Regions from separate parts of the Homo sapiens genome. Here all the other regions are linked to region 4. Evidence: promoter capture Hi-C in 16 types of primary human blood cells and fetal thymus (Javierre and others, 2016). All regions are on one chromosome and are shown on one strand. Each heading gives the region's core, a stretch centred on a gene start or on the middle of the fragment in contact. The rest is flanking DNA. Distances are from core to core; before and after follow the strand shown.

Region 1 (4,620 bases), core at 893-3,392, 570 kb after region 4:
TTGGCTCCAGGATAGAACACCCTCACAGCACCGCCACCCTCCAAGCTTCCGTTATCTGGAAGGAAAATCAGGACGAATGGGCTCTGCAGGCCTGCCTGCCATAGTACCAGGCTCTCTGGAATGGGGGAAGACACACAAAATCCCCCAAAACACCCTCACCCCCGAAGAACTTCACGTTCTGTTCAGCAAAAAAGACTTGCCCACACAACTAGAACTTCAGGACTTAAAGGGACCAGAAAGATCATCTAGTCCAAGGCTCAGTCCAAAGTGGAGGTGAGCAGCTCGCCCTACCATGGTGCCCAGTGAACCTCAGGGAGGTTTAGGAGACATGACCCAACCCAAGACTGAAACTGGTCAGGCGAGCACCCAGCACCGGGGGACAGTGCAGGGGCAGCCCGAGGGTAGCTGGACCAGTGCAGGGGCAGCCTGAGGGCAGGTGTATTGCTGCAGGAGGCCTGGGCTGACAAAGACAGAGGACCAGCTGGAGGTGGCTGGAGGTAAGGTGGAGCGCACCAGGGCGGCCCTGCAGAGCAGGTGGAAGACTTGGGCCAGCACCCAAAAGGGAGCCGCTGGGGTTCCTGGGTCCGAGTGCACTTCCTCAGCGCCACCTCCAATCGGTCAGGGAGTCTATTTCGGGCTCCCCATTCCTCATGGGGAGGGGGGACTCCACCCACTCAACAGATGCCCAGTGCAGTGGGCACGGGGAGGCAGCACTGCATCCCGGCTGCTCCTGGTCACACCTGTTCCCTGCTGCTGGGAGGCCATCAACACATCCAAACCCAGCCGTGTCCCCAGCCCCTCCAGAATCCCTTCCTCCAAGAAGCCGCCCTGCCGCTCCAGCCCAGAGCGTTCTCCCACCTCCCACCTCCGCAGGCTGAACATTACGCCTGGGGCTTGACTGCTGGTCCCAGGAGCAGTTCAGGAAGGGCCTGTGGAGCTGATGCCCAGGCGTCAATCCCCATCCCCACGCAGTCTTATAACCGTCTGTCGTCTGTCTGTCCCCCACCTGTTTCTCCTCTCCCTTTTCGTTCCAAAAGTTCCTTCTTATTCTGCAAATCACTTACTTTCCCTCTCAAAGACTCAGGAATGCTTAAAACTGGACTATTGAGACAGAGATCTAATCTGACTCCTGCATTTGAGATGAGATAATGAGGCCCAGATGGTCGGCATAGTTCGAAAACACCCATTTCAGGTGTTTTCAGGAACACCTAACAAATGAAGCAACCGTATCTTAATGAAGAGAGCAGCTGGCCCAGGGTCACGCACCAATTAGGAAGCTGTTGTCCCGGGGGGCCCCACCGGCCGAGCCACCTTGGGGGTGCCCTTTCCCCTCGGGGCCTCCGTACCCTCATCTCTCAAATGAAGGAGAGGTCAGGTGAGCGCCCTGTTAAGACTGACTTTCAGCATTCCCAAGGTCGCGTTTTATGTGCTCTAAACCGATCCCATCTCCTCACCTCCTCATTTCTCGCTCAAATGAACAAGCACGGGCTTGCTACTGGGATTCCTTCTGTCCCTGGACACGTCTTTCTACCCAACATTTTGTTTTTCTTGTTTCCCCACATAGGGAGATAAGGTTGAGGGAACAGGCAAAGGCTCGGGAGGCAGGAGACCTGTGATCTAGCCTGGTTCTGTCCCTACGCTCGGGTCAGCAGGCCGCCCAGGCTGGGGAGGGCGACACTGACCCTCGGGGTGCCGGCCGCCACCTGCTTCACACGGCGTCGTCGCCGGCACGGGTACCTTTCCTGCTGCAGAAGGGGTCGGGGCGCCCCACCTGACACTTGGGGGAGGCTGTGCCAAGGACAGGGCGCGTAGGGCACAGGTGCCCCGGCTGCGCCCCCCTCCGCCTCCGACCCCTGGGCCCCGCTCCAACGACCCCAACCACGGCCCCCGCCCCCAGGCCCCGCTCCACCGACCGCGGGCCGCGCTCACTCGCTGGGCCTTCTCCCACAGCTGGTTCAACTTCTCCATGCGGAACTCCTCTCCGGACTCGCGTTTCGGGGACGGCTTGGGCTGGTTCTTCTCCCGCGAGTACTTGCCGCCGTGGCTCGCAGCGGGCCAGGGCCCGAGGAAGAGCAGCAGCAGTAGCAGCGCCGGGAGCCCGCGCAGAAACGACCTGACCCTCCGCGGCGCCATCTTCCTCTGCGACTGGCGCTGCGCGGAGAAAACCTAGCCTGCCGATGCCCCGCCCACTACCCCGCCCCCACCCACCGCGCGGTCTCCTGGGAATTGTAGTTCCTCCGTGAGCGGCCGGCAGCGGCGAGGCCGCCGGCGGACTCCAGCGCCTAGGAAGCCCTGCGCAGGCGCAAGCGTTTCCCAGGCAACCACGCCGCGGCCCGAGGCTGCAGACTCTGGCAGGGGATACAACTGGAGAATGAGGGTGGCCGGGTGGGAGCAGGGATCAGGCCTCACCCAGAGCCCGGAGCCTGGAGCCCGCACGACTCGAGGCCTCTTTCCCTCTCTGCCCCACAGAAAGAGCGGAAAGCCCAAGAACCGGGCCGCGTTTGGCTGAGCCTGATAATGCTCCGGCTTCACGCGCACTGACGCCGACTCTTGCATGTCCAGTGCCGTTGCGGGGTTGGCACTGCGGCCCGGGCCTGGCGCTGAGGAGCCTGGCCCAGCCCGCTTCTGCCCTCCGCGGAGCGCCTGGCCGTGGGTAAGCCCAGGCCAGGTTGTCCCGGGGACGCAGGGCCGCGCAGACGTCCCCCTACGTCCCGGGGCCCCTGCCCCAACCCGCGTCCCAAGCGCCTGCTCTCGCGCCTGCTGCAAGGCAGGACTTCGCGCGCTTTTCCCCAACCCATGACACTCTAGGAAATTCACAGAGCCAAAGTTAGCATAGACCGCTCGTTGGGGGCTTGGCCAGTGAGTTGGGAAGTGCCCTGGAGGTAGCGCGGGAAACAAGGGGAAGGAGGGAGACAGACAGCAGCTGGGCCCCTTTGGGCTCAGAGAAGGGACAAGGGGAGCTCATCTGGCAAGAATGATCTGAAAAGGCCTCCAAGGGTGGGCGGGATTTTGCGGGGGGAGGGAGGAATTTCCAACTGGAGGGACAATGACAAAGGGGGTGAATAGAGCCTGGGCATCTTGAGAGGAATTAATGTTAATTCATTTCCTTTTTTTGCGTGGGGGGATAGGGTCTCTGTCATCGAGGCTGGAGTGCAGTGGCATGATCATGGCTCACTGCAGCCTCGACCTCCTGGGCTAAAGCGATCCTCCTGCCTCAGCCTCCCAAGTAGCTGGAACTATAGGTGCGTGTCACCACGCCCAGCTAATTTTTGAAATTTTTTGGTAGAAATTAGGTCTCCCTATGTTGTCCAGGCTGTTCTCCAACTCCTGGGCTCAAGCAACCCTCCCGTCTTGGTCCCCCAAAGTGCTGGGATTACAGGCGTGGGCCACTGGGCCTACCCTAATTTACATTTAAATTGTATCTTGTGTTGTTCCAGAGAAGATTTCAGGTCCCTGGAATCAAGGTGATCTGCTTCTGTCCTGTGCTGCTTTTCTAGTATTTTCAGAGCCATCGTTTCATTTCTTTTTTTCCAGCTGTTGAGTTGTTTCAGGCAAGAGGGTAAATTCAGTCTGTTACTGCATCTTAGCTGGAAGCACAAGTTCCCAATATGGGATGTATGGGGGAGAGGAGGTAAAGGAATCCCCCAGGAGGGTGGTGGAGGGAGAATGACCTCATGCGAAGTGACTCCAGAGACAGATCAAATGCTGTCATTGCCATCATTGCATGTTTTTAAGCCTCAGGACAGAATGGCCAGGTGAGCCTGGCCTAGATTCTCACCTGTGCCTGCCTTCCCCTTGTGTTCCCTCGTTCCTGCTCTTCTCTCCATCTCCTGGTGCCTAGAATCAGAGGTCACCTGTTTTACCCCACATACATGTTTTGCCCTGACCCCACTCCTGAGAGCTACAGGTAGGTCTTGGTGGGCTTAGAAGGGGATAGTCCAAATTGGCCTATCCCCCCCAAGCATGTCCCTGTTGGTCATCTGGAATGTGGTCCTAACTGCAAATGTTCCAGCTCTGTGAATCCTGCCCCCAGTGTCTCTAGAAAGGCCCGTTATAAACCCACAGGAATTGGAAGCTGGACTGGGAGCAGAGTCTTCTGGGATCCTGCATCTGACAGTGGTGTGGGGTTCTAAGAGCCCTTTTCCTATACAGCCCGGTTTCCCAGATAACTAAGCAATATTTTATTCGTGGCTGCATACACAGGCAATGAAACTAAAGAAAGTCAGGGGATGGCTAAAGGATGGAGGATACCTGGGCTGGGGGAGGAGGGAGAATGCGACGGGTGAACACAGACAGGCTTCCAAAGTGGTGTCCAGGTTGTAGTTCTTCACTAGGTGGTGGGCACACAGGCATGCATTTTTCCTTATCTTTAAATTGTACATATTTCATACACTTCTCCGTATGTATTATACATTTCAAACTAGTACATCTTCTAAAAAATCACAGTGGTTAATGCAATCAGTACAGGTGCCAGGCACATACCAGAGACTCCAGGTGACGGCATGCTCTCCTCTTGGGCTCCTCCTCTAGGGCTGAAAGTTTATTTCTCACCCCTGCCGCCAGCACCCGCCATGCCAGCCCGTGTCTCTAAGTGCTGAGGGGAAGGTGTATGAACAGAGA
Region 2 (4,533 bases), core at 343-2,842, 540 kb before region 4:
CTCAAGGATCAGCTTTTCTATCTGCCATTCACGTTTCTTCATGATCCAGGATGGCTGCCCACATTCCTGCCATCACCTCCTCGGCCCAGGAACCAGCTGCAAAAGAGAAGATGGATATGCCTCTCTCGTTCAGGGAGACTTTCCAGAAGTCTCACACCTTTCCACTTCTTGAAGGTGGTGGGAGAACTTAGCCACACAACCATGCCCCAGCTGCCAGGGAGGCTGGGAAATGCCATCTTTCAATTGGGCAGCAGTAGACCCAGCTAAAAATCAGAGTTTTCTTATTTGGGAGGAAAGGGGTAGTGGAGATTGAAAAGCAACTAGCAAAAGCTGCCACGTGGGGTTGTGCTTTAAGCACAAGCCATAGGGGCATGACTTGGTAGCAACCCTTAGGAGACTGGCTTTAATCGGGAGAAAAGACTATATTTTAATTAACATACATTTGAGATCTTAGGTAAATGAGTTATCTCCTAGTGGTTGAGAGTGTTGAGCTGTTTTGTGTCTGATGGAATTTAAACCTCCTCATATAATCTCATTTGTGTCTATAAAATATTTCCTAAGGAAAGAGAAGCTTTAGTCTGCCCACCCTTTTTTTTTTTTTTTTTTTTTTGAGATGGCGTCTCGCTCTGTCGCCCAGGCTGGAGTGCAGAGGCACGATCTCAGCTCACTGCGACCTCTGCCTCCCGGGTTCAAGCAATTCTCTGCCTCAGCCTCCCAAGTAGCTGGTATTACAGGCACCTGCCACCACGCCTGGCTAATTTTTGTATTTTTAGTAGAGATGGGTTTTCACCATGTTGACTGGTCTGGAACTCCTGATCTCAAGTGATCTGCCCGCCTTGGCTTCCCAAAGTGCTGGGATTACAGGCATGAGCCACCGCGCCCAGCCTAGTCCAGCCCACCTTTAAAGTTGCCTTAAATATAAGATAGTCAAGTCCTGATCAATGGAGTTAAAATCAATATGAGAAAAAAATCTTTAAACTTGAGAATTAAATCCCACTTCCCACATAGATGGTACTTCACTATTAAAGCTGAACTTTGGAATGCTCAGGTGGGAGGATCGCTTCAGGCCAGGAGTTCAAGACCAGCCTGGGCAACATAGTAAGACCCCTGTCTCTACAAAAAAAAAAAAAAAATTAAGCACAAAATTAGTCGGGCGTGGTAGTACATGCCTAGAGTCCCAGCTACCCCGGAGGCTGAGGCAGGAGGATCACTTGAGCTGCAGTGAGTTATCATCGAGCCACTGCACTCCAGCCTGGGTGACAGAGTGAGACCCTAAATCAGGAAAAAAATAAAATCAGGCTGAGAATTTGAGAATGCATGAATGTAGCTGAGATGCTGAAAGCAGGCGTCACAGTTGGATGAATTTTAGTACCTATTTCCTCCCCAAAGAGGTGATTGTTTTGATGAAGTTCCTAGGCTAATTTCAGTGGGATTCAGAATTCAAGCATCTCTTTTCCTTACATTCACCTTCACATACACCTGCTCTGCGCCAGATTCAGGGGTGCAGAGGCCCCGCCCCAGGGACCTTCAGGCCGGACAGTGAACCAGGGTTCCAGGGGCAGGGCAGGACAATTTGAGTCAGGCTGGACTCCAAAGGAGCTCTTCACCCCCGTCCCCATCTTCAACTTGGTTTGTCCATTTATTCCTTCCAGTTCATTCCTACCAGGTCCGCCCTGGATTGGGGGGCGGGCTTGGCATGGCCCTCTTCCTCCTCCTCGATTTGCATCACCAAAGGGTACCTAGGATCATCCTTTCTCCAGAATGCTCCAGCTCCAGGACAGGGGGAGACGGCAGGGAAACTGTTCCACCTTGGCAGCAGCTCCCACCACACACATGCAGACCATCCACTCTCACCGCCCCCACCAGGCGCAAGAAGGGGCCCTTTTCCTGGGTGTATACCCTGTTCCTCCAGGCAGAGCTGTATCCAGAGCAGATTCAAAAAGGCTGGGGCAAGGGGACCCCATCCCAGGGCAGCCTGACCCACAACGTGACGTGGAGGCAGGGCAAGAAAACTCACTCTTTAACATTGTTTCTCTAGAAGTAGACCTTTACATTTATTTATTAGACAGGATCTCAATGTGTCACCCAGCCTAGAGTGTGGTAGCACAGACATAGCCCAAAGCACCTTCAACCTCCTGGGCTCAAGGGATCCTCCCACCTCAGCCCCCCAAGGAGCTAGGACTACAGGCGTGCCACCACACCTGAGTCATTCTTTAATTTTTTTGTAGAGAAGTCCCCAGTTACGCTGTGGAGTTTTAAAAAACGTCTCAGTGTGGCTGACCCTGGCGAAGATGGGGAGTGGGATTTGTGAGCTGTGAGCTCACTGCCTACAGGGAGCCCCCACTGCTCTCAGCAATGCCTGGAGTGAAAGCCACAAGTCCCCCCTCCCCAAAGAGCAATGCCCCAGAAAAGTGCTTCCTGCTGCCAGCAGCCTATTGCCCCCTGGCTGTGTTATGGCTGCCTGGATCCACCTACCCACCAGGGTTGGCCACCACGCCCACACTGCACCACACCGCACCGCACCCCTGCCATACTGGTGGCCTGGCCTGCTGGGACCCTCCCGAGGAGAGGGGCTGAATTCAGAGAGAGCAGGGACTTAGGGTGAGCCTGTCACAAGCTTAAGGCCCTGCCCTGAGTATTCCTGCCTTGGCAGGCTCAGGGGAGGGTGCTCAGTGGGCCTCCTGGGCCTTTCTGCTCACAGCTGTTGAAATCCCCACGCCAGAGACTCAGCTAGAGGGGATCAGAGGAGAGTGAAAGGACCCTGAGGCTGGGGTGGGGTGTGGGTGGTCTCTCTTCCATGGCCCAGCCTTCCAAGAAGCAAAGGTTTCCCGCAGGATGGGCTGAGGCAGCTTAGGTGGCAGGTCCCCAGGGGCAGGCCATGAAGGGGGTGGGAACCCTCAGAGGGTCTGGGCAGCCTCACCCACAAACCTCTCTCATCTTGCCCAGGCAAGCCTGGCTGCAGCATCTAGATTTCAGCATCTGTGGATTTGCGGGTTTAATGGCTTCTGATCTGGTGTTCTCCAAGCCAGCAGCATCACTGTCTCTTCCCTTGCCCCGAATCATCAGGACCGCACTGGCGCAGGAACGCACCTCCAGGCAGCCTTGCTGGTCTCCAGACATGGGGTGGGGGGAGGGGGACCCAGCCGGGGCCCAGGGCAGGCTCCCGGGCAGTGACGGTCCTGGCTGTGCCAGAGGCTCATGCTCGCTTTGTTCTGGGAGGCCTGGTCTCCAGGGCCTGTTTTCAGCACCAGGGCTTCAAGCCAGATTTCCAAATTCCAAGCGGCCTTTCTTCTGGCCTCCTTAGAGAGAGGCTCCTGCTGGCCTCTGTGTCCATGCACAGCCAGGCTGGTCCCTAAAGCAGCCCCTAAAAGGACAGCCTGGCGTGGTGGCTCACGCCTGTAATCCCAGCACTTTGGGAGGCTGAGGCAGGCAGATCACCTGAGGTCAGGAGTTTGAGACCAGCCTGGCCAACATGGCGAAATCCTGTCTCTCCTAAAAAAATACAAAAATTAGCCACATGGTGGCTATACAAAAATACAAAAAATAGCCACATGGTGGTGGGTGCCTGTAATCCCAGCTACTCAGGAGGCTAAGGCAGGAGAGTCGCTTGAATCTGGGAGATGGAGGTTGCAGTGAGCCAAGAGCACGCCATTGCACTCCAGCCTGGGCAACAAGAGCAAAACTCCATCTCAAAAAAAGAAAAAAAAAGAACAGCCCATGTCAGGCCTCAGGTGGTGCAGCCAGCAGGGAGGTGGGGACACAGGCCCTGGGCTGATGCCATCCCTAGCCAGGTCCAGCGTCACAGCCTCTTTCCCTAACTGTGCAGCTAAACCCACTCACAGAACATGCCAGGTGCTCCTCCTGGAGACACCCCCGGGAGCCCCTGCCCTCCTGCTCTGTCCTTGTCCTGCCAGCCAGTGTCACCTTGGGGCTACCTGCATCGCAGCCTGGAAATTCCCCACAACGACAGTCACTTGGGTTCAGCCCCTGCTTCCCAGGGCACCCCCAGCCGAGACTCCTCTGCATCCCTGACTCTTCCTGCACTGAACGTGTTCGGGGCGTCCCTGGCTCTGAAATATCATGACTCATTCCCTGTGCTAAGCTGCCAGTGGGCCTTGTCCGTCCAGAAGACCGCATCCTTCAGTTCTAGGGCGTTTTCTTGTTATTTCTCTCTCTTGTCTCTCTGGAACTCCTGTTAATTGGGGTTTGGACCTTCAGGAATCGTTCCCTGATTTTCTTAGCGTTTTCCCCTACTTTCTATAGCTTCATCTTTTTCTACTCAGGGAGATTTCCTCAACTTTACCTTCCGTCTCCTGTTTATGTTTTTAGTTCTGTCATCGTATTTTGGTTTTCACGAGCCCTCTCTTTTTCTCCAGCCATTGCTTGTTCCTTGGACGCTGTATCTCCTCTTCTCTTGCATGGCAGTGCCTGGTTTCTAGGCTTTTTCCTGCCTTGTGCATCGTTTTCTCCTGGTTCTTTTCTTATGGTTTCTATGTTTCATGTCAGAGATTTCTCTAAAGTGTCTGGTGACAC
Region 3 (4,821 bases), core at 430-2,929, 750 kb before region 4:
TATCTCCTCTGCTGCTCTAGGTGGCTTAGCTTACCTGATCAGGTAACCCAAACCCTCATCCCTGAGAGGTAAGCCCCTGGCCACCATGCCCTTCTCTGGCCATAGCCCCAGCATTTGCCATCAAATTTGGGCAGGGGACCATGAGGTGGCCAATCACATCACCTGGGTGCTTCCCTGCCCCCAGTTATGTAGTAACAGCTCTACCTCCACCTGACGCCCACGGTCAGCCACCCCAGAAGATGGAAATTACATTCCTTGCCAGCCAGTCTCTTGGCACAAGGAGCTCAAAATGACCAGACAGCAGCCACAGCTGGAAATTAAATGGCGTTCTTCCTGTGCCCCTGCTGGAAAGGTTTTCCCTTTGAGAGTCAAGACCTTTAAACCTTAAGAACCCAGAGGAGTGTGAGGGAGAAATACAGATTTCTAAGTGGGTCACTGGGAGTGATGACTTTCACCTTTTGGTTCCCAGACCCATTTATTACACAAACCAAGGACACTGCACCACGTACTGGTTAGTGATTTGCAGTGCAGACTGCACCCTGGAGGTGACTGCTTCATCACAGGTGTCACCTCCAGGCTGCACACGAGGTGAGCTGTGCCTTCCACAGACCATCCTGCTGCTCCATCAGGCTGGCAGCTTCTTGGTGTGTGGCTGTGAGGGAGACAGTGAGTCCTACTCTCATGTGCCCACTGCTGCAGTTCCTTGGCTGAGCGCAGGATCCTGTGGATCAAACACTCTGTGAAACTTGGGTGATGGAGCTGACTGAATCCATGAGAATGGGAAAGGCAAACCCATGCCTGTAACGTGTGTTGGTTCTGGCCAAGATGAATCACTGTACCTTCTAGGGCACAAGGGGTTCAGTGTTGTCAAATGACTGTTTCCCTCCAAGGAAGGTACAACTGGGGACTCAGTGTTTGGTCTCTGTTGCTGGAAGATTGGATGTTCTGCAGAGAAATAGCTAGGTCAGCTCTGGTGAGGGGGAGCCCCATGCTATGGGCCATGCACAGCATCTACCCACCCCATGATTACTCCATGAGAGAGCCCAGTGTGCCAGCATGGGCGCAGCAGATGGCAGAGGCTAGATGTCAACTGGCCAAGTCATCCTATTAATGTGGTGGTTTGGTGTGTCCCCATGGTGAATGTTCTTGGGTGGGAAGTACTTCGTGACTGTTCCCACAGATCCCTCCACATGCCTTACTCCAGGAACTCCCTGATCTTCCAATCTTTCTCATTCCAGGTACCTGAGCAACCTGTCAAGCCACTAACCGCTGCCCAAGAGTTCCAAATGTGTTAACACTGGGGCCACTTCTCCTTCCACACAAAGTAGATAGTCAAGGGGCACCACCCAACGTTCTACCCATTGGGTTTCCCTTGAGCACTGTCTTCCAGGGCTGCCTAAATCAGGCTGTTCAGAGCCCACCCACCATGAACCAAGCTCTAACTTTTCCTGCCTCCATCAGCTGGTCTTAAGGCTGCCCCCGTCAGAAGTACCAGTGCCAGCACCAATGATGTCATGGGTTCTGGGCCACATGAAAAGCTTGGTTGTGCCTGCTTGTACCTAGTACTAAATGAGCCACTTCCAACTTGCAATGGACAGCTGCATGCCCACCTCTCAGTGGGTCTGACAGAACCAGCTCATGCTGGCAGTTCTGGCTCATGGTCACTTGATGTCACCATGGCCTCACGCTCCATCTCTACCAGGGCCCAGTAGCATGACAGTTTTGTTTTTGAAAAATTTATAATTTGTTTCTGCAGATAGCATTGCCTTGCTCCAGAGTTCTAGGAGTCTGCATTGAGATTCTTCTGTTGGGGCTTTGCCTTAAGCTTCACATGGCATCTTTCCCCACTACAGATACCTCTAACATCACAAGGTCTGTTGGGTTGGAAGTCCAAGTAGCTGAGCCACTTGCTTCACAGCCTAGGCCTCTTACAGGATGCTTTCCTATGCAGTATTCCCAATGTGGAATATGCTGCCTCCACTCCCTAAACCCAGAGATGCCTATCAGGTGTTATGGTTCACTCTTAATGGTTATGTGGTTAACCACGTTGCAGGATGACTCGACCAGTTAACATCTTCATTCTTAATGCTTCATTCTTAAAAATGCAGTAATTTAGCCAGGTGTGCACTTGTAGTCCCAGCTACTCGGGAGACTGAAGCAGATCACTTTGACCCCAAGAGTTTGAGGCCAGCCTGAGCAACACAGTAAGACCCAGTCTCTTGGGGAAAAATAAAAAATAAAAAAAGGTGGCCAGGCGTGGTGGCTCATGCCTGTAATCCCAGCACTTTGGGAGGCCAAGGCAGGCGGATCATCTAAGGTCGGGAGTTCGAGACCACCCTGACCAACATGGAGAAAGCCCGTCTCTACTAAAAATACAAAAAAAAAAAAAAAAAATTAGCCAGGCATGGTGGCGCATCCCTGTGATCCCAGCTACTTGGGAGGCTGAGGCAGGAGAATCGCTTGAACCTGGAAGGCGGAGGTTGTGGTGAGCTGAGATTGTGCCATTGCACTCCAGCCTGGGCAACAAGGGTGAAACTGCCTTAAAAAAAAAAAGGCACTAATTTGTCCTTTACTTGCAAGGGGATATCCTACCTATCCTCAGACCACTGAACTTCCAAAAACTTCATGGTTGTGGTGGGCCCCAGAATATCTGTGTGCTTATCTCCCATGTTTTGGACAGCAAGACAGCTAACAAACTTGCCATTTCTTGCTTATGCTGATTGGCATGATGTCATCAAAACAGTGGGTGGCGGGATAACATAGCACTGGGGCAAGGTGCAAATTTATATTGTCCATTCAGAGTGAATATTTCTGCAGGGATGGAAAAGAATGTGTTCACCAAATCAATAATTGCATTTCATATACCTGAGGCCTTGTTAATTGCATATGCCACATCCAGCCCACCAGCTGTCATTAGGGCTATAACTTGGTCACAACTATTTGTGGTGTCAATTGTTATTCTCCAGGATCTGACTTCTGTGAGCACCTACCTGGTGAATTAAATGAACATATGACAGGGACCACCCTGTGCCCTGAATCCTGTAGGGGTTTAAGGATGGCACTAACTTCTGCCATTTCTCCTAGGTTGCCATATTGCTATACTAATTCACTATCTTTGCTGGGAAGGCAGTTTCAGCGTCATCCACTTGAGCTTACTCACTAGGAGAGCTCTCATCCTCAGGCCAAGGAGCCAGTACCTGAGGGTTCTTCCAACAGTCTGTTCATTCCAAATAACATGTGGGGACTTGGAAAATGGCTTCGGAGTGAGCCCTCCCATTATAGTGTAATCTGGGCCAAGGTTCCATTTATTGCTTGAGTCCTTGCGCCTCTGACGGAGAAACCATGATGATACTTTAGGTCTCCAGGTATCAATATCATATGAATGTTTCAGTATCCCTTTCCCCCTTGTATAAGTTCCCAGAGTAAATGGCCACAGGTTTCCCTGGCGGAAAGACAGGAAAAATAACTGCCATATACACTCACTATGGTGTTGCATAATCCTTCCTCCTGGGGACCTGGCCTCTCCTTCAGTCAGTTGGTTCCAGGTCTGAAGTCACTTTACGAGAACTGTATCTACCCTGCTTCTGACAGGCAGCACCACCTGGCCTCTATGTCAGGATCCTATCTCCCTGACTGTTATCAGGAGGCATCTCCTATTATCAGCCCTGGTCTATAGCAGACACCACTGAGATTCTCAGTGAAGCCGATGCTCCCCACTCCCTCATCAGCTTTCATTATTGCTTCGGTAAATAGAGCATCCAGAGCGCCCTTCTGCAGAACAATGTTACCTGCTGAGTTTCCCAGCCCTCCACAATATGGCCATTCTAGCATGTCCACCTCTCCTGGCTTTTCATGCCTTCTTTTACCATCTGCCCTGGCAGTTCTAATCTTTCTCCTTCACTTAGTATGAACCCTCTCCTACAAGGAACTAAAAGCCATCCTAGCAGTATGTTGGCACCACCTCTTGGAATCTTCATCGGGTTGTCAAATCCAGTGTCTCTGAAGTGATCCCGCATAAATAAACTCTCCCTTATCCAACCTTAGTTCCACCTGCCTTGATCCAGCACCCTCAGACCCAGCCCACCATAGGTACTCTCCCAGGCCTGCTTGTATATGGCCAGTTAGGTCCTGCAGTTCCTTTGGAGTAGAATCTCTTTCGTCCCTGTGCCAGTTATCAACATACTGTCTCCCAGCTACAAATTCGCCTCTCAGCTACAAATTCACCCCTCGTTGCACCCCACGCCCTACAGAAAATACACCTCCTTTGCCACCTGGCACGATGTTAAGCTCCGTCAGCAGAGGGTGCTAGAGGGACGCTGTCAGAGATGAGGCCTCTGCTGTGCTTTGCTTTGCTTTCCTTTCTTCTTGCTCCTGCAGCTCTTAACCAGTGTACTAGACACCCATGAGCAGCCCCACTGGCCACTTCCCAGCTACTTCTGCAGACATTCTAGCCAGCCCTCCAGCAAGTTTCAGTCAATCCCCGTGGGCAGCTTCCTACTGAGTTTCACAAGCACCCCTACCAACTTCTCAGTGAGTTTAGTGATACCCCATAGGTGGGTTCCCACTTGCCAGACTGACTGGCACTTCAGCCAACTTCTTGGCCACCCAGTGGGCTACATCCACAACCTCTGACAGTCTGAATCTCGGCCTTGAGGGGAGAGACCCTGCTAAATTTGTCCCTTCCTTCGGCACCCCACTTCAGCCCTAGCAGGGGAGGCTGCTCCCTGTCTGCTCTTGCTGGATTCTTTAGAGTTTTCTCTAAAGCTATTCCTGGTAGCTACTCCTGCTAGTTAGTAATGCCTTAAACATTCCCTGTTCAAA
Region 4 (4,404 bases), core at 517-3,016:
GTGCCTTTGCATGTGTGTCCTCTGCCCACCCTGGGCCCATGAACAGCTCACTCCCCTTGCAAAACTTGACTGTAACTCCCTCTAGAAGAATTTTTGGACTTTCCTAACTATTACACTTTTTCCTGACCGGGATCTCCTAAGGCACTCAGGTTCCATCTTTGATTTCTTCAAATATTTGTGTTTCTTCCAAGGGCCAAGCATTGGAGATCCAAAAAGGAGCAGCAATTCCCGTCCCCGTCCCAGGCCTTCAGCACAGGGCAGGGAGGTGGATCTGCTCAATACCAGAAGTTTGAGCAACCTGTCCTATTTGGGTTACATAGCTTGGGTGGTGAACCTGAGCTGGCCCTTTAGAGACTTTCGGAGGTAAGGCAGACCTTTTGGACAAACTGAGTTGCAAGAGGCGAAGCAAGGACAACAGCCAGACTGTGCGGGACTCGAACGACAAGCCAAGAAGGTTAAGAATAACAGTATTTAGAGAACACTTGCTGTGTGCTCTATGTGCTATCTTACTTAATTCTCACAAACCACCACGAGGGGTAGGATGTATACTATCATCTCTACTTTTGAAATGAGAAAACTGAGGCTTCAGTGGTGAAGACAAATGTGTCTCTTCTAGGGAACCACACTACCTTATTCTCCCACCCCGGCCCGGGGGTGTGTAATGAGGGACTCCTATCGAAGTCAGCTGTAAGTCTATCTTGCCTATTCATTATACAGGCTGTCGTCTTCGCGCAGTAAGGATAATATGTGTTTTGATTCAAAGACCATCCAGCTTGCACACTGTGATGAACAGAGATCAGGAGCTCATGAAGGCAAGGGCAAGTCTTATTTACCTTTATCTCCCCGAACCTAGAAGCGAGGTCAAACAGAAGCGCTCGGGGTAGCAAGAAGGCTTTGTAGATATTGAAATGTGAATGCATGCCCAGCCCTTACCAGGTGCGTGACCTTAGGAAATGCACTTGTCCTTTCTGTGCCTTAATTTTTTCACCAACCTGCTAATGTATGTTCCTCAGTGAAAATTTAAAAAAAAAAAAGTTAAAAAAACTAGGAAGCAATGAGTTTCCATAGAGTTACTTCCCAAGGAACAAGGTTACGCGCTTCGGGAGAGAGCCGATGAAACATCAAACGCAGCATCCTACACAGCCCCTATCCACCGTCCCCAAACCTGCAGAGCTCAAAGTAAACGCGGAAGGGTTAACAAGCAGCTTGGTCCAGGGCGCCGCCCGAAGTGACTGACTCGGCCTGACCCGGTTGGAGGAGTCGCCGAAATAACACGAGTGCAGGGTCTCCAAGACGGCGAGAGTTTCCAGGTCACTCCAGCTCAGAGAACAGCAGAGGCTTTCGGACTATCAAGTCAGTGCCGTGTGCCTGTCACGGCCTGTGCCGCTCAACGAGGAAACCGACGCACCGAGAAGGACGCAGCCGGCCGAGAGCAGCGTGGGGTCCAGATCCTGCCTTCCGGCTCCCCGTGCGCCCCCCGCTTACCTTCCTGAGGGCCCGTGCGCGAGACACCCCGGGCAGTCCCACGTCGTGGCGCGTCTTCCGGCCCAGGATCTGGAACTTCTGCCTGTTAACTTTCACCTCGAACGGATTGGAGTTGGCCTTCGCCGGGCCCCCTCGCGCTCCCGCCGGCGCCCCGGAGGCCTTCCTTCGCGCCCCGACCTTCTTCGCCTTCGCCATGGCGCGCGCCCCGCTGCGCCCAAGGGCCCGAGACCCGAAGAGAGACAGGCGCGCGCTACCCTAAGACACGTGCCGGGCCGCGGAACCGCTTCCTCGTCTCGCGAGAACAGCGCAGCACCTCCGACTCGCGAGAAGTAAACACCGCGCCCGCAGGCTCGGCTTACTCGCCGATAGGCTCAGCGACTACAACTCCCAGCAGGCCACGCGCCGCGGCCCGCCGTGTACTCTTGGCGCAGGGCCTTCTGGGAGCTGTAGTGCCCCGGCCGCGGCGGCGAGGGGCGCTCCCTCTTCAGCTAAGCCGTTAGCGCCGAGCCCGCCCGGGAGCGGGTCGCCGGCCGCGGCGGGCGCCCCTGCCAGTGAGCCCCTGTCCGAAGTGAGCCACGGCATTGACTCGGGGCTGCCCGGGGGCAGGGCACTGAGGAGGGAGTTGCGCGCGCGAGGCGAGGGCGATGGGGCCAAGAAGAACCGGGGCGATAGCGCGGCAGCGGTGACAGCTGGGACCCGCCGCGGTCGGGCTGCCCCCTCCCCTCGCCCCGACCGCTCCCCTGCTGGTGAGGGCCTGCGGAGGCGGCGGCGGCGGCGCCCTTGGTGGCAGTGGTGGCGGCGGAGCAGCCTCCCGGGATCGTGTCCGGAGCTCGAGGAGAGGGTGGTGCCCGGCGAGCTATGCACGGGGGCGGCGGCGTCTCCTCCTGTTCCGCCTCCTCAGTCTCCTCGGTCTCGCAGAATCCGCCGGCGGCGGCGGCGCCAGGACATGGAGCTCGAGAACATCGTGGCCAACTCGCTGCTGCTGAAAGCGCGTCAAGGTGGGTGCGCGGCAGGCGCCCCCGACCCCCCCCCCAGAGAACCCCGAATCCCGGGGAACCCTGGCCCCCCTGAAGGAACCCGACATCCCCGGAGAACCCCGATTTCCCTGGAGAGCCCCGACACCTCCCACTGGGGGAACCCAGATCTGCACGGAGCCGGAGCCGGGGTCTGTGCAGTGTGGTCAGGCTGCCCGGGCCAGGTCCCAGTCCCCATCTCCTGGCCCAGATGAGAGAAGTCTGCGCTTTGCTCTTCTTAGTCTTGCCCTGTGTCCTTGTCCTGTCCTCTCGGTGTGACCTCGGTGACAGTGTTGCTTCAGGATGCGGCAGGCAGTGTCCTGCTTGTGTTGGACAACCTGTCCCACCAAAAAAGAACGGCGTCTTTATGGTCTTAAGGGGGACAAAGAATAGCAGCCTGGGAACTACTCTGGGCGAGAACCTTCCGATAATGATTGTAGGGCAATGTTATTTTTAACATAGCTGCTTGGTTTTGAGGTTTGATCTGAGGCTCTATGGTGTGTCAAGTGTGCTTTAGCACGACGTGGTCACAGATGGACAAGTTGGCAAAAATTCAGCCTTTTATCATTATTAAAGTGAGGCAGAAATTTAAAAATAGTAATAAGTACTGCATTCATTCACTCCAAGAAAAGAAAAAGCCAAGGCCCAGAATGTGGCAAGGCAAGGGTTAAAAAGAAAAGAAGAACAAGTTTTCTTTTGCTTAGCAAGCTCACTTTAAGGACAGTTATAAGATAACGCTGTTCTGTTTGAGAAGTCGAATCCAAAGGAATAGGCTCCAGACACCCCCCTTCCAGAGCAGGGGTGAAGAAAAAAAAAAAAGAGGACAAATATCTGTGTTTAGCCAGTTCTTGGTTTTTTCTTTCAACGCAGCTACAAGGCCACCAGCTATGCAAGGCCACAAGTTATGCCAAGTCATCAGTTATGCTATAGATTATGTGACCTGTCATTATATGATTAACTGCCTTTGTTTTGCTTCTGTAAGTTTGCTTATAAAAATCCTGCTTAGTCTTTGTTCAAGGCTCAGCTTTTTGGATGTGAATCCACTGAGCTGGTGCGTACCTTAACATAAATATCCTCCTGTTTTCACCCATGCTGGTCTCTCTAGTCCTCTGCATCCCGCCACAAAAGCATCAGTTGGTCCAGCCCTTCAGCGGGAGACCCCCACAATCCTCTGTGCAATCCTCTGTCTCGGACCTCATGTCTCCCTTGCCTGCGTCTCAAGAGAGCTGGCGACAGAGCCTCGGACCTCAAGTCCCTGTGCTAGCCACGGTAGTTCTTCACACCCCGTCACTCTTACGGAATTGCTGATTTCCTCTATTTCCTTGCGTGATGGAGCAGCTCTGCTCGGACTGTGCTCCAGGACAGTGTAAATGCCGACTGAAGATGCCACAGCAGCCGGCGATGCATATTTAAAGGACAGTCTGGAGCCGAAGGTGGCGGCCACGCTTGTAGTCCCAGCTACTCTGGAAGCTGAGGTGGAAGGCTCACTTGGGCCCAGGAGAGTCCAGCCTGGGCAAAACACAGCAAGACCATCTCTTTAAAAAAGTCTAAAACAAAGACTTCATCTTCTCAGTATTTTTGTGCACCAACTCACACTATTTTGAATAGAAGAACTGAGAATGGGTGGGAAGAGAATGGGATCTTTTTCCCTTAAGATAATCAGGGAGTCCCAGAGCAGTATGCGTTCTCAGCAGCCATTTTCAGTGGAGCATTTGACTGTGCCTCTTATCCCTGACTGTGAACTCCAAATAGGTCATGGAAAATAATCATCCTTAGTGGAAGTCAGATTGAAGCTAAGCCAGTTTTCTTTTTACACTACCTTCCTATCTGCATGTAATTTACAAAAAGGAACTATACCAAGCCGCCTTCCTTATAATGCTGCAGAGATTAGATAATGAGATAAATA
Region 5 (4,318 bases), core at 815-3,314, 720 kb before region 4:
ACAACAGTATCAGCCCCTGGAGTACAAATGACAAACACAATAGGTTTAACTATACAGATGTGGAAAGTTTTCTTCAGCTTGCCTTGGGAATTTAAGAAAGCAAGTATGTTACGTGTATTTCCAGGGTAAGCTTTCTTTTCAGCAGTCAAAATTATTTGGAGTTTTAGTAAGGTCAAAAGATAAATGGAACCCAGGAATTAATCCTCCCTGAAAAAGCCCATGAGAATATAATGGACTAAACAGACCTAAAGACAGAGCTGTGAGGATCAAGTGTTTTTGCTGTTTGCTTTTTCTCCTTCCTGTGGAAGCGATTTTCTCCTATTAGTATTAAAAAATATTTTAGGTTTTGGACAGTATCTTTTCTGACTGTTTTTAAACTTTAGAAGTAACAGTCAGATGCTAAAGATTATTTCTTTTAGATGTAGTTTTCCATGAATTTTGTGGGACTCTATTCTGCAAGCAATGGAGAATGGGGGCTGTTTTCAAGCAGGAGAGTGAATTCTCAGATGTGTGTTAGAAGCATAATTCTGCAAGATGAAAAATGACAAAAGGTGGTAAGAGACAAGATACAGGACCACTCTTGCAGCATGTAGGAGAGGAGGAGAGAGCTGGACAGAGAGAGCTGCAGGAGCTGGCAAAGCCTGGGGCCTGATGACTAGCCTGGGTCCGAGACACTCCGGGGTTTCCAGCTGAGTAGGGAGTGGCATTTCTTCCTATTCTTCCCACTAATCCTTCCTGTTAAGAAGAAAGTAGAAGACTATAGGGTTGGGAAAGAGTTTGTTTTCCATCCTGTTGACATTCATGTGACAAAGCGAGAACTCAGTCCCCAGACTCAGGAGCAGGTTTGGGTCAGCACAAGCCCAAAGGAGGTGACAGAGTTCATTCACCAAGGTGGCCACGTGGAGAGGGCCTTTGAAGTGGGGAGGAATGGGAACCACAAGGGCTGGCAGCAGAGCCTGGGACTGGTGGGGTGTCAGAAAGGGCCTCAGGACAGGAAGAGGAGTTGTGAACCCCTGAGGCTCAGCAGGCCAGTGGCATAACCATTTACATTCTAGAAAGATCCCCATGAGGCCAGTGTGTACAGGGCTGACCTGGCCAAGGACTAGGAAAGGAGGAAGGAGCAATGCGAGAAGGCCCTGTGGCGATTAGCCCAGATGATTCCAGCGCCTAATTTGGGTGACCATAATCTCAGCAAAAATGTGGTGGGAAGGGATATAGGGGGCTCAGGGCCCACTTCCCAGAGGAGGCTGTGCCTGAGCTGGTGAATGCAGGGAGCAGGTGGGAGTGGGGGCTGAAGCCAGGGCAGGGGTGGGCCGGACTGAGCTGAAGGACAAAACGCGGTGTTTCAGTTTAATCTGGAGGCCATGGGGACCCAGAGGAGGACTTTAGGGAGGTGAGCAAGGAGACCTTTAAGGTCATTCAGGCTGCCAAGAAGAGGGTGGGTAGGAGGCTGCAGGCAGGGTCCTACTTGGAGGGGGACTTGCTGTAACCCAACAAGCACAAAGATGGAAAACAGAGATGGACTCTGCTGGGAGAATCAAGGGCTTCCCAAAGGACAGGGGTCCTGTCCCAGGTATCCCACCCGCCAGCCTGGTGAGCAGGGGAGGGGTGCGTCTCCAAATCTCAGTGTGCCACCTGTGAGAAGGGCCCAGCATGATGGTACCAGGCACCAATCATACATGGAACTGGGCACAGCCCCTGGCACCTGCATGCCCTCGATAGAAAACGGTAGTGGTGATCCCAAATCCTAATATTTGGGATTTAAATGTCCACATTTACATGAATGGCCAAATCCTGGTGTCTCTGAGGCCCCAGCCACATTCCCAGGAGGAACTGCTTTCTTTCCTGGGGTGCCCCCGCTAATGGCCTCGAGGGCCCTGGGGCCCACACAGGTTCAACGATCCGGACTCTGCTGCTGGGGGTTAGGGGAGCTCAGATTCCTCCCTGAGGCCCCCAGCAGTTACCCTCCATGGCCACCCCACAACCTGCTGGCGGGTCCCACTGGGCCACCTCCAGTGCATAGCTGCCGTGTGCACAGTGTGGCGACCTCACACTCAGGACCCCCCGTATGACCACCCAGCTCCATCAATTCTCCAGCACTCAAGGCAGGCATGTCCTCTCTCAGCTGCCCACTGCTGGGGCCCCCAGGACTCCTCCCTGTGCACCAGGGTAGCTGGGCCCACACCCCCACCAACCCCGGCCCTCGGCAGATCAGAGGTCTCTGCTTCCAAGGGGGTTCCCTCCAAAAGGCCTCCCTGTGGGGGAGCGGGCAGCCAGCCTGGCTTGCTTGGGTGAGAACAAGGCCTCTTCTCCCCACTGCGTGAAGTCTCATCGCCTCACAACCACCCCGTGATGGGCACGACAGGAGCCTGTGTCTCCGTGGTCACCACCAGCACAAGGGGACAGCTGGCTACACCATCTCGCTTCACCTCAGCACGGCAGGTCCCCATGACAGGAAGCAGAAGCCGTGCCCAGGTAGTTCTGGGAACAGGTACAGAGCGATTCTCACAGTGCAGCTCTGAGAGCCAGCAGCCTCTGTGCAGAGGGCTCCTGGCTGGCACGGAGCACCCCAGGGAGCGGGCTGTCCTCGGCCAGCAGGGCCCCAGCACAAGGGCCAGAGGCAAAGTCCCAGTGCCTCTGGGACAAGAGCAACAAGAGCATCCAGTTGGCCAACAGGCCCATGGGGGCGCCCACCTCAACCCCACCTTCACCCAGCTCCAGGCGCCACAGCATCCAGGGAGGCAGCTGTGACGGCGGGCCCGGTGTGGTTGGCGGCACGGGGTGCCGTGCTCCGTCAGGCCTCCCAGGAAAGAGGCTGTGGTAGGGCAACGAGGGCCACGGCCCGAAGGCCACATGGCGTGGTGCCATTGGGCCAGGCTTTCTGCTTGGAGGCCGAGGGCAGGGCGCGAAGCACGCTGACAGTGACAACCACAGAAAGAGCCGGAGCCAGCAGGGTGAGATATAAAAATCTGTATTTATATTACAATGACATAAGGACACAGCACGGCCCACACGGTGGACAGGTGGCCGGGGGCCCCTTTCCCCCTCTAGCGCACGCCCCCCTCACCGGCACCAGGCCCTCGTGTGGCCCCCGACTCTGGCACGGAACCTGCCCTAGTGCCCAACATGGACCTGGGGCCACCCTGCTGGCCGAGGGTCAGGGTCCTCTGTGCAGGCAGTGGGGAGGGGGTCCCAGGTTCCCTGACAGAGGGAGGCAGGGCACGGGGGAGCCTGCCTCACCCAGCGGACAGCACGGGCCGGGGCAGACAGAGCAGGGACCCTAGGGCCACAGACCGGTACAGGGTTCCACCACCCGGGGACACAGGCCCAAGCACCGTGCCACTAAGATGGGGTCTGCAGAGGCAAAGCCTTGCTGCAGCCTCTCCCACTCTGCGAGGATGGCGGGGGTCTGCTATGTGGTTTGCGGGGGTTATCCTGGTATGCGGGAGCTGCCTTCCAATAAGGCTGGGGAACCCAAGCCTGAGTCTGGGTGCTCAGTGGCCGAGAGCACTGGTGTGGGCTGGGAGGGCACACGCAGAGGCTCAGGAGCCCCGGGCTCTGTTCTGCTTCTGTCTGCTCTCTATAGACACGGTGATGGCCTCTTGGTCCCTGCAGCCTCCAGTGATGGCAGCCTGGGCCCCTGACAGGGAGCAGTGGGAGGTTGGAGCATGTGGTGACTCCTAGCACGGGCCCCCACCCAGTGGGCAACCCCTCACCCACCTGCTGATGGCAGGGAGGGGCAGCTGAACAGCACCCCGGGTGGCTGAGACTGCCTCCCAGTCCACGTGGGAACCACGGCCTCAAGAGCCACAGGCTGAGCTGCCGGGAGGGTGGGCTGAGGGGCCACCACTGGTCACCGGGTGGATTCTGCTGGTCAGAGATGAGAGCAGAAGCCCCTAGCTGCCTCAGGCACTGGAGGGTGGGGCAGGGAGCTGGTGCTTCAAGAATTGAGGGCAGGGACACGACCACCTCAGGGCCCTGCAGTGCTGGCTGGGGAAGCAAGCTTTTACACACGGCCCGCCTTGCTCGGAGGTGCCACGGTGTTTGAAATGAAGCCTGGGGGGACAGACTCAGGCAGGCAGGGGAAGCTCCTTTCTGGGCACCCCTGGACCCCAGTGGGGCCGGAAGGAGATGCAGACAGGCCTCCTCACAACCACCCGCAACGCGTTCGGATGCCCCTCAGCTCCAGGCACCATGCCCCCTACAGCCTGCAGGGCAGGTTCTGTGCCAGAGTTGTTTCCAGGGACCCCCTTCCGCCACAGTGGGCCCCCCATCCTGGGGCGTCTATGCGTACGACTGAAAATAGACACGAATTTTC
Region 6 (4,927 bases), core at 458-2,957, 560 kb before region 4:
TGCTGTCAAGAGACACAGAGGAAGAAATCCCGGTCCTGCCGGCTGTGGAGGGACAGTGGTAGCAGCTTTTAAAATCCTCTCCCTGGCGCTGGAGGAGGGACTTGCTCAGCTGGGTCCCCAGTGAGCATGGAGCTCTGCTGCCACCGCTCCCCTCATGGCACCAGGCACCGCACAGACAGCGCTGCAGCTGGGAGCTCGTTTCAACCTGGAGACAGCCCTGCTGGGTGGGCGGGGCCCCTCCTCCCCAACTCCTCCCAAGGTCAGCTGCTCCAGGGCTTGGATCAGTAAGTCGGCCAGGCAAGCCGGCACCGCCCCCGCCATCAGACACCATCTCCCGCCCCGCCCGCTGCAGGAGCAGAAGGTGCTGGAAGGCCATGTCCTGCAGCCTCTGCTTGGCTATGGTCCCCAGAAGTCCTGATGGGTCAGCAAGAGCTGTATTAAGCAGAGCAGGCAACAGCGGCAAAAACTAGCAGAACATCCTCAAGCCAGGACTGCATGTGAGGAAGACAGCGCCAGCATCACTGTTTCATAGTCGGATCCACAAAGCCCGGGGAAGTGGCCGGCAGAAGACAACACGGAAGCCACACAGCAGAGAGCGGGCAGGGAACGCGGTAGACAGTCGCACAACAACACTCACACAGATGCCAAGAAAAAGGCTTAGAAGGGAATATTAAAAACCGTAGCAGCTGTACCAGACTAATAAGCTTAGGTGCGTTTGTGCTCTATTTACCCACCCACATCTAATGATACACCAGTGCTGGAATTTAAGCTCACTCTGCTCTCAGTCAGCCTCTCACTGCATGAAAACCAGGGCAGCACTGACCCATCCCTGCAGGGCCAAGCCTGCCCCCTCCACCAAGGCCCCTCCTCCTAGCTCAGGACCCGGTCAGCTAACACCAGCATGGTCTTCACAGGACGTGCCTACCACCCATCCAGCACCCTCAGAAACAGGATCCCCATTTGGGAGTCTCCATGAGGCTGGCGTGCCATTATCCGTGTTTGAGGAAAGTCAAAGTGCAATGCTGACCTCTCTGACAATGCAGGGCACACAGAACAATACAGGTCCTTTCCCCGTGGCCGCCTGATGACCCCTCTGGGCTGTGGCCCAAGCCTGTGTGGCCCCAGCTGCCTTCTCCTCAGCTACCAGGGCTGCCCTGAGCCCCAGCTCCTCACAGATGCCCCCACACTTCCAGGGCTACAGCCCAGGAGGGGAAAAAGCCTGTACCCCAGCGTCGGGTCTGCAGAGGGATCTGAGATGGGCAAAGGACTAGTGGGACCTTGTCACTGCCACTCAAGTGGGGGCGTGGGAAGCAGTGCGTGGAACCTTCCATTGAGAGAAAGATGCAGTCACACACACGAGTGTCAACACGCAATATGAGCCTTCCAGAATTCTCGGAGCACGGCCCTGGCCATCCCTGGATCGTGGCGGGAGGACATAGCGCACTTCTGAAGACCTCCCCAGGCCTGTGGTTTCGAGGGGTTTGACTTGATTTACAAGCACAGGAGAAGTGGGAGTCCTATCAGGGCACTCCGCTCACCAGGGCTGGGGCAGCTCAAAGCCATAGCACACAGCAGGGCCATAGATGCCCTCTCAGGCCCCTCTCAGCACTCACCGACCCCGCCTCCGATGACCCACTCTCTGTCAAGAACCACAGTGGAAGCCAGCTGCAGTGGCTCACGCCTGTAATCCCAGCACTTTGGGACGCCAAGGCAGGTGAATCACCTGAGGTCAGGAATTCGACACCAGCCTGGCCAACATGGTGAAACCCCGTCTCTACTAAAAATACAAAAAAAAATTAGCTGGGTGTGGTGGTGCACATCTGTGGTCCCAGCTACTCAGGAGGCTAAGGCAGGAGAATAGCTTGAAACCGAGAGGCAGAGGTTGCAGCGAGCAGATATTGCGCCATTGCACTCCAGCCTGGGTGACAAGAGCGAAACTCCATTTCGGAAAAAAAAAAAAAAAAAAAAGAATCACAATGGGGAAAGCAGTTGGCAGTTCCTCAAAGCTGAAGATGGGCCGGGCATGGTGGCTCACACCTGTAATCCCAGCACATTGGGAGGCTGAGACGGGCGGATCACGAGGTCAGGAGATCGAGACCATCCTGGCTAACACGGTGAAACCCTGTCTCTAATAAAAATACAAAAAAAATTATCCAGGCATGGTGGTGGGTGCCTGTAGTCCCAGCTACTCAGGAGGCTGAGGCAGGAGAATGGCATGAACCCGGGAGGCGGAGCCTGCAGTGAGCCAAGATCGCGCCACTGCAGGACGGAGCGAGACTCCGCCTCAAAAAAAAAAAAAAAAAAACGCTGAAGATGGAGCTACACAGTAATTCCACCCAAGCACCTCCCCAAGAGAATCAAATTACAAAGACTCGAACACACACGCTCATGCCAGTGTCATTCATGACAGCCAAAAATGGAGACTACCCAAATGTCCATCAGCAGGTGAATGGAAAACAAAAAGTGGTCTGTCCACTAATGGAATATTATTCAGCCATAAAAATGAAATGCTAACACATGCTACAACATGGATGAAACTGGAAGAAGCCAGACACAAAAGGCCCCACAGCATATGACTCCTTTTATACGAAACGTCCAGAACAGGCAAATCCGCAGAGATGGAAAGCCAACTGGAGGTTCCAGGGGCCAGAGGCAGGGTGAGTGAAGAGTGACTACATAATAGAAACAGGGTGTTTATATGGGATGATGGAAAAGCTTTGAAATCAGAGAGAGCCAATGGCTGCACCACATTGCGAATACAGGAAATATCACTGATGGTTTGCTTTCAATGGTTACCTATATATTCACTGCATTTCACCCTCTCAGTCTCGCTCTTTTTTTTTTTTTTTTTTTTGAGAGAGGGTCTTGCTCTGTCACCCTTGCCCAGGCTGGAGTGCAGTGGCACAGTCGTAGTTCACTGCAGCTTCAAACTCCTGGGCTCAAGCAATCCGTCCCCCTTGGCCACCCAAAGTAGCTGGGATTATAGGCGTAGGCCACCATGCCCAGCCACACTTCAATCTCTTAAAAGATTAAAATATATATATAACAACAAAAATGAACCATAACTAACCTCATCCACAAGCCGAATTTGTCCCCAAAGGCATATCCTTGGATAGTTCCAAAGTGAGCCCCAGATACCCCCAGAGAGTGGCCCGGACAAAGCGGTGCTGGGCCTGGGGCCTTCAGGAGAGAAGCCATGTGTCTTCCCCATACTCCAAGCGGCACCGCGAAGGGAAGATGGGGTGCACCGCCACCTGCTTTTCCATTCTCTCCCCACAGTGAGCTTTGAGGCAGGCCTTACCACCCACAGTCCTTGGCCTTTTCAGAAGTGTCTGGAGCACACCAATTGGACCAAATTTGAGAAGACCAATGGGACTTCCTTGGATTTCAGACGCTGTGGGAGGCTGCAGATCGACTGTGCTGATGGTCGACTGATGGGTGCGCTGAGCAGACTTACAGTTTCCCATCATTCCCTGCAGTGCCCCGCTCCCACTGCAGGCAGCCACATGGCCGAGCTGTAACCTTGAGCAGGCCCAGGCTCTGAGATCTGCAGGCCAGGAAGCCTTCCCTAGGTCAGAGGGAAGGGGCCGGGGCACAGGAGAGTGGCCCCCGTGCCCATTGTCTCTGAGACCTCACGTCCCTTGGAGTGGTCAGGAAGGAGCCAGGTGAGGCCGACAGCCAGCACTCCTGTCACTGTCCCTCGGGTTCTCTTGGTTCTTTCAACAGTTTCAAAATGCCCACTGGCTGGGCGCAGTGGCTCACGCCTATAATCCCAGCACTTTGGGAGGCCAAGGCAGGGGGATCATCTGAGGTCAGGAGTTCGAGACCACCCTGGCCAACATGGTGAAACCCCCATCTCTACTAAAAATATAAAAATTAGCTGGGCATGGTGGCAGGCGCCTGTAATCCCAGCTACTCGGGAGGCTGAGGCAGGAGGATCACTTGAATTTGGGAGGCGGAGGTTGCAGTGAGCCAAGATTGCGCTGCTATACTCCAGCCTGGGCCACAGAATGGATTCTGTCTCAAAAAAAAAAAAAAAAAAGAAAGAAAGAAAGGAAAGAAAATTAGCCGGGCATGGTGGCACATGCCTGTAATCCCAGCACTTTGGGAGGCCGAGGCAGGTGAATCACTTGAGGTCAGGAATTCAAGACCAGCCTGGCCAACATGATGAAACCCCATCTCTGTCAAAAATACAAAAATTAGCTGGGTGTGGTGGTGCACACCTGTAATCCCAGCTACTCGAGAGGCTGAGGCAGGAGAATCACTTGAACCCAGGAGGCAGAGGTAGCAGTGAGCCAAGATCGTGCCACTATACTCCAGCCTGGGCCACAGAACAAGACTCTGTCTCAAAAAAAAACAAAACAAAACACTGAGAAGGGGCTGCCCGAGAGCTCCTGTGACTGAGACCAGGATTAAAGAGGTGGGGCAGCCAGGCCTGGGAGCCGATGGTGTGCAGCAGGAAGCCATCCCCTCCCTGTGGGGAAACATGCTGTCACTCTGCTTTGAGCGCCGTGCTTACCTGATACAGGGAGAAAGAACCTCACCTCCTTGCTTTTGGTAAACGCCTGGTTCACCTTTTCTGCCCCTTTCTTTTCAGCCTTTCTGCGGAAGCTGTCTCGTGGACATCTCTCGTCAACAGCACAAGGTTGGATTGTTCAACGCACAGGTGCACTCTCAGTCTCTGTCTGGGAGGTGGATTTGCTCCACTCCCTGTGATGCCTGACTTACGTGCAATTATTTCTACAGCTTTAGTTTTTGCTTTTTGTTTGTTGTGCTTTTGCTTTGCTGCCCTCTTCTCATCCTTTCCTGCTTTGATTGGATTATTTCCTTTATTCTCTTTCTCCCTCCCCTGGTTTAGGAGTTATCCCTTCTTCTGGGACTGTTATCCTAGTGCCTACCCTGTGGTAATTCACACACTTAGCTCATG

The links. Contacts are between HindIII fragments. The CHiCAGO score rates a contact against its expected background, and 5 or more counts as called.
Region 1: the fragment with the promoter of LRPAP1 here is called in contact with the fragment with the promoter of NOP14 in region 4 in 1 of 17 cell types (neutrophils); the score reaches 5.1 in neutrophils.
Region 2: a contact is called between a fragment that was not itself captured here and the fragment with the promoter of NOP14 in region 4, in 1 of 17 cell types (neutrophils). The highest score is 5.9, in neutrophils.
Region 3: a fragment that was not itself captured here is called in contact with the fragment with the promoter of NOP14 in region 4 in 1 of 17 cell types (naive B cells); the score reaches 5.0 in naive B cells.
Region 5: a fragment that was not itself captured here is called in contact with the fragment with the promoter of NOP14 in region 4 in 3 of 17 cell types (neutrophils, fetal thymus and erythroblasts); the score reaches 8.2 in neutrophils.
Region 6: a contact is called between a fragment that was not itself captured here and the fragment with the promoter of NOP14 in region 4, in 1 of 17 cell types (neutrophils). The highest score is 5.1, in neutrophils.

What each region holds. Positions count from the first base shown.
Region 1 is chr4:3,530,280-3,534,899 of GRCh38, forward strand. LRPAP1 (LDL receptor related protein associated protein 1) reads right to left here and starts at 2,143. Exons shown (of 8, transcript NM_002337.4): 1 at 1,930-2,143. The coding sequence starts at 2,133. RefSeq lists silencers at 1,633-1,882, 2,323-2,382 and an enhancer at 1,923-2,132. The HindIII fragment of the contact is 16,557 bases long and covers 44-4,620 here.
Region 2 is chr4:2,420,763-2,425,295 of GRCh38, forward strand. The region is part of intron 1 of CFAP99 (cilia and flagella associated protein 99); the gene reads left to right. Among named protein-coding and RNA genes, the nearest start is that of CFAP99, 4.1 kb to the left of the region's middle. RefSeq lists enhancers at 1,993-2,583, 2,584-3,173, 3,174-3,763, 3,764-4,352. The HindIII fragment of the contact is 2,046 bases long and covers 570-2,615 here.
Region 3 is chr4:2,215,902-2,220,722 of GRCh38, forward strand. The region is part of intron 3 of POLN (DNA polymerase nu); the gene reads right to left. Among named protein-coding and RNA genes, the nearest start is that of HAUS3, 24 kb to the right of the region's middle. RefSeq lists a silencer at 4,229-4,318. The HindIII fragment of the contact is 287 bases long and covers 1,537-1,823 here.
Region 4 is chr4:2,961,640-2,966,043 of GRCh38, forward strand. NOP14 (NOP14 nucleolar protein) reads right to left here and starts at 1,767. Exons shown (of 18, transcript NM_001291978.2): 1 at 1,486-1,767. The coding sequence starts at 1,680. It overlaps GRK4 (G protein-coupled receptor kinase 4), which reads left to right and starts at 1,932. Exons shown (of 16, transcript NM_182982.3): 1 at 1,932-2,483. The coding sequence starts at 2,432. RefSeq lists enhancers at 325-394, 1,425-1,958, 1,959-2,492 and silencers at 1,955-2,384, 2,555-2,604. The HindIII fragment of the contact is 6,609 bases long and covers 1-4,404 here.
Region 5 is chr4:2,244,477-2,248,794 of GRCh38, forward strand. MXD4 (MAX dimerization protein 4) reads right to left here. Exons shown (of 6, transcript NM_006454.3): 6 at 2,956-4,318. Among named protein-coding and RNA genes, the nearest start is that of MIR4800, 3.5 kb to the right of the region's middle. The HindIII fragment of the contact is 3,873 bases long and covers 129-4,001 here.
Region 6 is chr4:2,402,024-2,406,950 of GRCh38, forward strand. All of the region lies in intron 1 of ZFYVE28 (zinc finger FYVE-type containing 28), which reads right to left. Among named protein-coding and RNA genes, the nearest start is that of ZFYVE28, 14 kb to the right of the region's middle. RefSeq lists an enhancer at 1-194. The HindIII fragment of the contact is 2,011 bases long and covers 703-2,713 here.